Linked DNA regions of Homo sapiens: regions 1 and 3 are each linked to region 2. The links are contacts of gene promoters, found by promoter capture Hi-C in blood cells and fetal thymus (Javierre and others, 2016). All regions are on one chromosome and are shown on one strand. Each heading gives the region's core, a stretch centred on a gene start or on the middle of the fragment in contact. The rest is flanking DNA. Distances are from core to core; before and after follow the strand shown. Region 1 overlaps SPAG17 (sperm associated antigen 17). Region 2 holds the start of HAO2 (hydroxyacid oxidase 2). Region 3 overlaps LOC105378930 (a long non-coding RNA gene).

The links. The method cuts DNA at HindIII sites, captures the fragments that hold promoters and counts their contacts. A CHiCAGO score of 5 or more calls a contact.
Region 1: a contact is called between a fragment that was not itself captured here and the fragment with the promoter of HAO2 in region 2, in 5 of 17 cell types (endothelial precursors, M2 macrophages, megakaryocytes and 2 more). The highest score is 17.6, in endothelial precursors.
Region 3: a contact is called between a fragment that was not itself captured here and the fragment with the promoter of HAO2 in region 2, in 1 of 17 cell types (endothelial precursors). The highest score is 6.6, in endothelial precursors.

What each region holds. Positions count from the first base shown.
Region 1 is chr1:118,158,590-118,161,809 of GRCh38, reverse strand. All of the region lies in intron 1 of SPAG17 (sperm associated antigen 17), which reads left to right. Among named protein-coding and RNA genes, the nearest start is that of SPAG17, 25 kb to the left of the region's middle. The HindIII fragment of the contact is 575 bases long and covers 1,421-1,995 here.
Region 2 is chr1:119,366,978-119,370,124 of GRCh38, reverse strand. HAO2 (hydroxyacid oxidase 2) reads right to left here and starts at 1,340. Exons shown (of 8, transcript NM_016527.4): 1 at 1,223-1,340. HAO2-IT1 (HAO2 intronic transcript 1) reads right to left here and starts at 1,179. Exons shown (of 2, transcript NR_046780.1): 1 at 1,117-1,179; 2 at 1-41. The HindIII fragment of the contact is 4,151 bases long and covers 756-3,147 here.
Region 3 is chr1:118,195,166-118,198,391 of GRCh38, reverse strand. LOC105378930 (a long non-coding RNA gene) reads right to left here. Exons shown (of 4, transcript XR_947746.3): 3 at 1,996-2,265. Among named protein-coding and RNA genes, the nearest start is that of SPAG17, 12 kb to the right of the region's middle. The HindIII fragment of the contact is 2,351 bases long and covers 582-2,932 here.

The DNA of each region.
Region 1 (3,220 bases), core at 459-2,958, 1.2 Mb after region 2:
TAATCCCAGCACTTTGGGAGGCCGAGGCAGGCAGATCATGAGGTCAGGAGATCGAGACCATCCTGGCTAACACGGTGAAACCCTGTCTCTACTAAAAATACAAAAAATTAGCCAGGTGGGGGCGGGCGCCTGTAGTCCCAGCTACTCAGGAGGCTGAGGCAGGAGAATGGCGTAAACCCGGGAGGCGGAGCTTGCAGTGTGCCGAGATCCTGCCACAGCACTCCAGCCTGGGCGACAGAGCGAGACTACGTCTAAAAAAAAGAAGAAAAAAAACCTTCCCTATTAAAAAAAATGATAATTGCATGAAACTCTAAAGAAAGTTACAAGCATTCTCAGAAGAAAGATCTCAGGAACTACTTCAGACACCTCCACCCTCCACAATTTTATCTTCCCTCCCACTAGGATTGATTGATCTTGATTAATACTTTTACCCTCCACTTGTCTGTTTAAGGTCTGACCTCATTTTCCTTACCCTATGACAGGTCTCCACTGCCTTTTACTTTCCTAGCACAATTGCTATGTCCTGAGCAGCTGGAGAAGTCAGGATTACTGCACAGCTCCAGCTCTGGACACTAATTCCCTCAGTAAAACCCAGTCAGGGCCACTGATGTTAAATAGCCTTTACAAGAAATAGTCTCTAGAAATTTATTTCATGATACAAGCATTGTTTGCTCATTTTCACACTCCCATCTTAGTCATTTTGTGTATCCCTTAGTTTGTTACATCATATACATTTAGTCATACTAATGTAATAAATGCTTGTTGAGCTGCACGACTACTCATTTTTGTTGAATTGAGGTAGGGCACAGATTCCCTGACACTATTCTTGCTCAAGTTACAGTCTCATAGTTTTTCTGACACACCCCTAGGGAGTTATTGGAGAAATTCCCATCATTCCCTGCTAGCATAATACAAACTCAGCTCCCTAGAAGATCTGGCACTGCTCCCTGGATCCTCTTTCTTTAACTCTTCTTTCTCACCCTATCATTTGAAGACCATATTTGTAGACCTAAAAATCAGAACACATGGTCAGACACATCCTGCTTTCAGATATTAGGGATATTATGAGATATGTAATTGGGCTGCCAAAATATTCCCATTGCTTGGACATTTTATTGAATTTGGGGAAGAATAAGATAGAGTTAGTGTAATCAGGGCAATCTTGTGTTTGTAGAAGTAGCCCTGGATATGCCCCACTCAAGATGGATGTAGAAATTAAATTATATCCATGGCTTTGTAGTAAACAAGGGATAAATGAAGACGCTTGTATTCACTGTAAGAAAATAAGTTGTCCATGAGATTGAATTAACCAAGCAACAGCATGGATGGCTCATGAGAATGAGTATTGGTCGGTTATTTTGTTTCTTCTGGGTAGCCCTAGTGCCAAGGCACAACAAATCCATGAAACATACACAAAGCTTAATGTATAAATGACATTTACAATACAGGAAGGAAGATAGAAAAACAAAGCAAAAGGGCTGCAGTAGAGTAAGTAATGAGCTAACATTAAGTCTTAAAAATATATCTTATTTTTTAATGTGGAAGATAGTGATGCAACATTGAAGGAACTCAATCAAGGTCAAAGAAGGTCTCGTGCTTGAGGAAGGAGTTGATGAAAGGTTGTAGCTTTTAATATATGATGATGAAAAGAGATCTCCTTTTAGGGCGGGTGAGTCTCTGATTCCAGTTTTACATTTCTGGAGCAATTAGCAGGACTCCTCTTGGCTTTTCTTGGTCTCCTCTGTTAGAAGAATGTCTCTGATATGTAATATTTGTTTCAAAACCCAAAGAAGCTCGTTTCCTTTTGAGGTTTGCCTTACTTTTTATGTTCTGAAGTTCATTTTGAACCTCAGATTTTGCTCCAAGCCATAAAACTGGTTGGATTGTACTAACATAATGGAGCCGTAATTTCAGCCCACTGTTGGGGGTGGGGAGATAGTTAAGGTGTGTAGTGGCTCTGTGGTTTCTCTGTGGAGTAGAATTCCCTGCAAAGCTTTTCCATGTGGTGTTTTAATAGCTGTCTTAAAACTCTCTGATGCATGGAGCAAAACCGAATTAAGCTCATGTGCTAGATTGGTGGGATGGGCCAAGAACTCTGTGAAAAACGAAAGAAAAACAATCAAACAGCCTAAGCCAGAGGCTACACGGTACAAAGAAGATCCCCAGGACATATCTAAATTCAAAATTCAAAATTACTGCAGCAGTCACCTCTTTTAACCCATTTTTGCAGAACTTTCTACAGGAAATTAGAATATTTCCCTTGCATATATTAATATTTTACATTTATGTGGTACTCAACAAATTTACAAAAGGACCCTAAGTGTATTCATTCTTGGGTCCTGCAATAGTCTTTTGAAAGTTGTATTAATAGATTCATAATTTTAAATGAGAAACTGAGTCACAAAGATAAGCCCAAGGTCATTTGGCTAAGAAACCACAGAGGCAGAATTTGACACTACCCAAACCTCTCTGCATACCTACACCAGAACTTCAATAATTTTAATTAGTCACATTTAATATTTATGAAGACAAGGAAAACCAGCCAGACAGTGTATACATGCACAGTAAAGCTGTTTCTAGACTACTGTGTTTTCATCAGTGAATATAAGCCATGTACAGTGTTGTCTAAACATCAAAGGAATGCGCTCTTTCTCTAATTCAAATTCTGGGTGATTCAGAGGCATGACTCCTTCCAAAGTGCTGAGTTTGGCTGATAAAATGCCACATACTCAGTCAGCCCTCCCATGCTAAGCATGTGTAAAAGTTCTCTTTAGTGTGTGGTTTTGGCTGCTAAGTTCAAGAAACATTTATTGAATGCTTCTATATGCTAGGCACATGGGTGAAGCAGGAAGTTGTCTAGGGGTCTGTTCTGGTATAATTCTAGGGGAGCCTTTTCCACTGGACCAGTCCACAGCCTTAAATACCGCCATTAGCAGGGCATCACTTTGAGTTAGTCCAGGAGTCACTGGGATTCCTTTTTGGAAATGCAGATATTAGAAGAAATACTTCAAAATGGTCCTAGCACTAAAGCCTCTGGGTGTGTATATATATATCTATAATCAAATCAACTCTTAAGACTCTGAGCTGAATAGCAGGTAATACCTAGGAGAAGGAGTTAGTAGATTCTGCTAAGGTCTGTAATGAGCCCTGTGAAGCCAGAATATAGCGGCAGGCCAGGAAACGTGTCTTATTGCACTAAGGCTCCCTATCAAAAATAAAC
Region 2 (3,147 bases), core at 91-2,590:
TTCCTCCTCTACAGCGATCCTCCATCCTCAAGAAGGCAAAGCTGTAAGAGAAAGGCCACTTGGATTCCCAAAACGCCATTTGGAAAAGGGTAGCCCTGGAGATCAGCTGATATTGTGTAAGGAAGAAATAAATATTTATGTGTTATCTCACTAAGTTGTTAAGGTTTATTCTTTACTATAACATAGCCTGATTTAACATAATATATCAAAGTATTATGCTAAACACTAGAGATATGGGGGGGGACCTTTATCACATCAGTTTCTGCTCTCAAGAAGCTTACAGTCGAAGAAGACAGACTTTCATAGCTCATCATTTGATAGCTGATACGATTTAGAGTACAACAGGAGTCCCTTTGAGGGGAGAGTTACCTGGGAATTTGGCAATATTCCCATTACCTCTCAAATGATATACCACAAGTGATGTTCCACTCAATCTATTCTAGACAAGCTCCAATTCTCATCTATCTTTAAATTAGGTTATTACTGTCTATCTCATAGGGATCTTGTGAGAATTGAAGGATCTTGTAAAATGCAGAATATAGTAGTAGTTAAGAATAAAAGTTTGCGGATTTTGCTTCCTGCTAATGGACGCTTTATTCTGTTCCATTGATCTGTTATCTATCTTTATACCAGTACCTCCCTGTCTTCATTAGCGTTCTTGGCAGTTCTCCGCAGGTTGATCTGTAGATTCAACTTAACACAATCAGAGGCTCTTCATTAGTGGGACTTTGTAACCCATTTGTTCCAAATAAGCTTATTGCTCAAAGGAACTACATTGTTTGAGACACATTAACTTCTTTACTTTTTTAGGAGCATAGCCATGTCACTGTTTTCTTTTGCTTGTGGCCGGGAAGCAGTGGTCAGAATACTAAATATATCCCTGAAGGCAATAGCAATACCTTTTAGGTTTTCAGAACGCTGTCAAGTGAAAACATTTTAACCCATTTTTCCTCCTATGGACACCCACGAATATTCCACCATACAATTCTAAGACTCAACTTCCTAGACTTAACCTTCTCTGTCTGTATCCTTTTTGAAACCAAATCTTCCTTTGCCCATGCCCTCTGAGTTCCCTAACACCTGTCTCCCTAGGACCATCTTTGCCAAGGTCCTTGCCTTGCAAACTCATAGTTGGCTTCCACGATATCTTCCATTCCCATCCTATCTGGCACTTCATCACCCTTCTCAGTTCCAAGCACACAGAACACACTCAATGACAAACCTTATTCTAATGTCTTCCAGTCCTCAGGGAAAGAAGTGTTTAGACGCAGCCACTCAAAGCCTGGCTCACTGCCGGAGGTGTTAGGAAACACACCACATCACTACCCACAGTTCAGGCTAAAGAAGAGGCTGAAGTCTCAAAGTTAATCTTTTAATGAAAACATCCAGCTTAGCAGTAAATAAGCAACTAGGCCAGAGCAAGGTTGACTTTGAAAGAATTTTGCTGACTTTGCAAATTTACTTCAAAATTAAGTGAAGTTTATTACAAAATTAAACTTCAAAGTGAAGTTGTAATTTCCTACCTGAAATCACCCATTCCCTACCTCTAAATTCAAACTTGATGTTGTCCTCTGCTCATCACAGATTGTTAGAGGTAGGGAGTGGATGATTTCAGGTAGGAAATTACAAAAGTCCCCGGGTTGGAGGAGGGGCTTTTTGTGGTGATGGGGTTGGGGTGGGAGAAGAGCAAGCACAGCCTGGGAGCCCATGGGCAGGACAGCAGTGGGGACCCAGGCCAGGACGGTCCGAGCTTTGGGGATTTTGGAGGGTGCATAGTGTAGAGCCCTCCCTGCCCACAGAACTGTTCTGGGGAAGTAATTATGTCTAGATTAATATGGGAGTCAGGGAGAACCAGTGAAATTTTTGAGTGGAAAATTATTCAGGAATGTAGAAGAAATGCTAGGAAAAGCAAACTTAAAAGTACATGGAAAAATAGAATTAATTTCTCCAGAAGAGTTCTGTAGGGGTCCCAGAAAGGTCACTAATTTGTCCAGGTCTGTTCGTCTCCACTCCTCCCCCAGCTCTTGCCACTGCTCCTTAGTATTGCCACAGCTCACGTGTGTGATGCGCTTACGACGTGCCAGACACACTACACGCATTACTTCATTTGATCTTCACGGAAGGTCAATCTTTTCAAGATTGTCTCTTTTTCAGAAGAGAAAATGAGATTAACGAACATGCCCAAAGCCTTTCAGCAGTAAAGAGCAGAATTGGGATTTGAACCTAGCCTGTAGCCAACACACGGAGCAGAGGAGGCCGAAATCCTGAGCTGTACCGATGACCATAGCAGTGGGGTTTGCCTTTCCTTTAGAACCTGTAGTTAGAGAGCAAAATGATGAATTTACCACTGACTTGTCATACCATCTCCACTCAAGGCTCATTGGCTATTTATTTGGAGGGTAATCCCTACCTGCTATCTAGCCACTAGAGGACAGTATTACCTCAAAAATGCTTTCAAAAGTAGCCAAAATCTGGGTTCTGGAAATTTCTTTTCCATAGCAATTTTCACAATCTCCATAATCAGCCTCTAGGCCATGTCCTCGGTCAGCTCTCACAACACCTGGCCTGCTCACAGTCCCCTGATCCAGACCCTCCCTTGCTGTTTTCCAGACTCCGACTCTGTCTCTCCCTTCCAGAAGGAAGCCTGGTGATGAGCACACACTGGAACATGGTGCTCAAGCTCCAAACTGCAGCCACTCACTCACTAACATCCACATGTTACTTAAATTCTCTGTGCCTCAGTTTCCTCATAATACCTCCCACACTGTAATGAGAAGTAAGTGAGTTAATACTTAAAAGATGCTGGCAGTAGATAGAAAGAACAGTAGAGCTTCTCATGAGAGATTCTCAAGTTTGAAATAATGACCTTCTTGGAGACCTTTTAAATCTGATGATTGCACTGAGTTAAAGAACATCATCTCTACAAGGTAACACACTCTAATATCAGCCTCTAATGTTTGCACCTAAGTGAACTAATCTCAAATAGGGGATATAGGGCCACAGGCAGAGCTATTTGAGGCAGCATTTTTGCAGCACCTCTTGAATTCCAGAGAATGGGTCCATGGATAAGACAGACCAGCTTTGGACCCACCAGCAGGCTTGGAGAATGTTTCAGGATGAGGTTATGAAAAGATATTGGTTTTATTC
Region 3 (3,226 bases), core at 508-3,007, 1.2 Mb after region 2:
AGATTAGACAGATAAAGAATTCAAAGAACATCATTTTAAAAAAACTATTCATAACACAATTAAATAGAAATCAAAATTAAATAGATAACTGGGGGAAACTCACCCACATTTGAAAACAAAATCAAAATGCTAATAATTCATGGGTCAAAAAATAAATTACAATGAAAATTAGAAATTGTAAAGCACTAAATAATAATAAATCCTCTATATATTAATGCTTGTGATATGAAGCCAAAGTAGCAATTAGAGGGAAACATGAGGGCTTAAATGATTATATTACCAAATTTAAAAGGCTAAAATTAATGTGCTAAGCGTTCAACTTTATAAATTTGAGAACAGAATATAGAAAATAAAAGTAAGGAAATTAAAAAGGGCAAAACATAATGAAACAGAAAACAAACACGCAATAGAGAGGATCAAACAAGCCCAAAGTTGTTATTTGAAAGACTAGTAACATTGACAAATTTCTAGAACATTTACTCAAGAAAAAAGAAGGCAAATATAATGACCTTCAGAGTGAAAGAGATATAATGATAGATTTTCAATGAACAGCAAAGAAAAGTATTAAAATCATTAAAGCTTTAAAAGCATGAAAATCTTTTCAGTAAACAGAAAAGAGAAGCATTAAAATCAGAGGTACTTTACAGTTTTGCATCAATAGAGATTGTCTTCATAAGAGAATAACACAGGTCCTCCAATTCGAGATAGCAGTAGGTGATAACAAATCCCATATGAATTTACATGTGAGTGGCAATCATAAGATGCCACCCTAAACAAAGCACCTTGGTAATACCGTATGATTCTTTACATAATCCTATACTCAAAAATGAGATGTGAAAGACCTTTCAAATGTGCAACACAACTGGGAGGTACACTAACACTACTCTTATTTAGCACTAAGCCACTCTTCTGCTGGAGTGTTTTAACGAAAGGTGAAAACCCCACAGGGCAAAGAGCTGACAGAGGAGAAATGAGGGTAGAGAGGAAAACGAATGATTAATAGAAAGTAGTGCCATCTTGGAAGTGGGAGAATGGACTATGGTGGGAAAATGCAGAGAGATATGGAAATAGGCTGTTGTGATTGATGTCATTCCTTGGTAGTACCAAAGAACTAAAGTAAAAATGTAACATGTAAACTGGATTCTAAGCTACATGAGAGTAGGGATAGTATCCGCCAGACTCTCTAATCCTCAGTGCTGAGCACAGGGCCTGGCATATAATAGACACTCAACAAAATTTGTTCAATGAATCAATAAGTGAATGAATGAATAGCTAATAAAATATTAGCAGGCTAGAAGGAAACATGTGGTACTGGATTAGAGTGGGAAATATCAGTGTGAACTCGTGTTTACCTTAATATAGACAGAAATAGATAAAGAAGTAATTTTGTGTATATATATATATGTGTGTGTATACATGGGTTATTTCTTAAATCAGTCCACTGAGAGGGCCTAGAAACAAAAGATACTCCAGTAGCAATCAGCATGTTCAACCATTCTCCAGGAAAGAGAACCAGGGCTCCTTGGAAAACTGGCTGCTTCTAGGACAGGGTCAGGTAATATGCAAGATGAATGAGGCTGAAGCATCTGTAGTGCCAGAAAATAAAGAAAAAAAATCCAATAAAGGGGTATATTAAGGAGACGCAGAGCCAATTAAAAGACCTCGCAAATATCAAAGCTAGGGCAACTGACTGAACAATAAAGTAAATAAATATTATAGTACATTGGGAATACAACCCAAAGGATAAACATTCATGAGTCATTACTGAGGTAAGCAAATGACTGAATAAATAAATTAATGAGGTAGAAAATTTCCCATACAGAAAAATTTCAAGTTATTTATGTAGGAATAGATACTACCCCCCTAAAGCATGTTGGAGTGTAACTTCCCATACTTTAAGGGTGAGCTGCACGTAGTGACTTCCTTCCCAAAAACACAGTAAGGAAAGGTACGGGGAGGGGAGTAACTTTGTAGAGAAAAAGCCTAATAAACTACCTCAGCCAGGACATCAAGGTTAACATCATCGATGTTAATTCATGTTAACAGCATGTACCCTTGACATGATGTGATGAGAATGGCACTTCACATCTTTGGTCTTTTTCTCCAACCTTGTAACTCCAGGCTAAGCATGAGAAACACTTCACAAATTATCATACCACCTCAAAATTGTCAAAGTCATCAAAAACAAAGTTTGAGAAATTGTCAGTCTGCAGGAGCCTAAGGAGACATGACATCTGAATGTAATGTAGTATCCTGGGTGGGCTCCTGGAACAGAAAAAGGACATTGGGTTAAAACTATTCGTTAGCATATTAATATTAGTTCATTGTTGCAACAAATATACCATACTTAATTTAAGATGTTACCAATAGGGGAAACTGGATGCGGATACATGCAAACCCTCTGCACTATCTTTGAAACTTTACTGTAAAACTACAACTATTCTAAAATAAAACATTAATGTTTAAAATATTAGCTAACATTTATCAAGGGCATAGTATGTGCTATGAACTGTTCTAATCATTGATAGCTACGACTTTCACCTTCACAACAGTCCTACAATGCAAACATAATTATTCCCATTTCATTTTTAAAAACAAAACAAAAAAGTGAAGCAAAGAGGGGTTAAATAATTTGCTCAAGGTCATCAAACAGCCTACAAGGAGCGGTGAAGGGAATTGAACCCAGGAGAAAGAATGTTGTTCTCTTAGCACAAGATGCCCTGTGAAAGTGCCTCTCAGCCCTGTGATTGGATTCTCCAATTTTTAATTAGCCTCCTGTGTTGAAGAAGGAGTATATGACAAGTTGAACAGCTAATATCAGGAGGAGTTTTAGAAACTGTGATAACAAATAGCTTAATAGGGTTTCAAACGACTACCAGACTGAACAGGGAGGGAGAAGAGATTATGGGTATAAATGTGAGTAACTTAAGCTTTATAAAAACAATTTCCATAAAATGAGGAATTTACTTAGTGGGATAAAATTGGCAATGGTTATTACCCAAAAGTATAATAGTGGAAAATAGCCACACTCTAAAGGATTAAGACAGCCGGCTCAGGTGAAGTGCATACAGTTATTCAAAAATAATCATAAAAGTTTTAAAATGTGGATTATTGGCAAATTGTGTAACTTGATTTTGAACAAAAATAGAAGCCTAAAGATTATAACTAACCAGCTTTAAGAAAGAAAGAAAGACAGACAGAAAGAAAGAAAGAACCATGGGAGCAT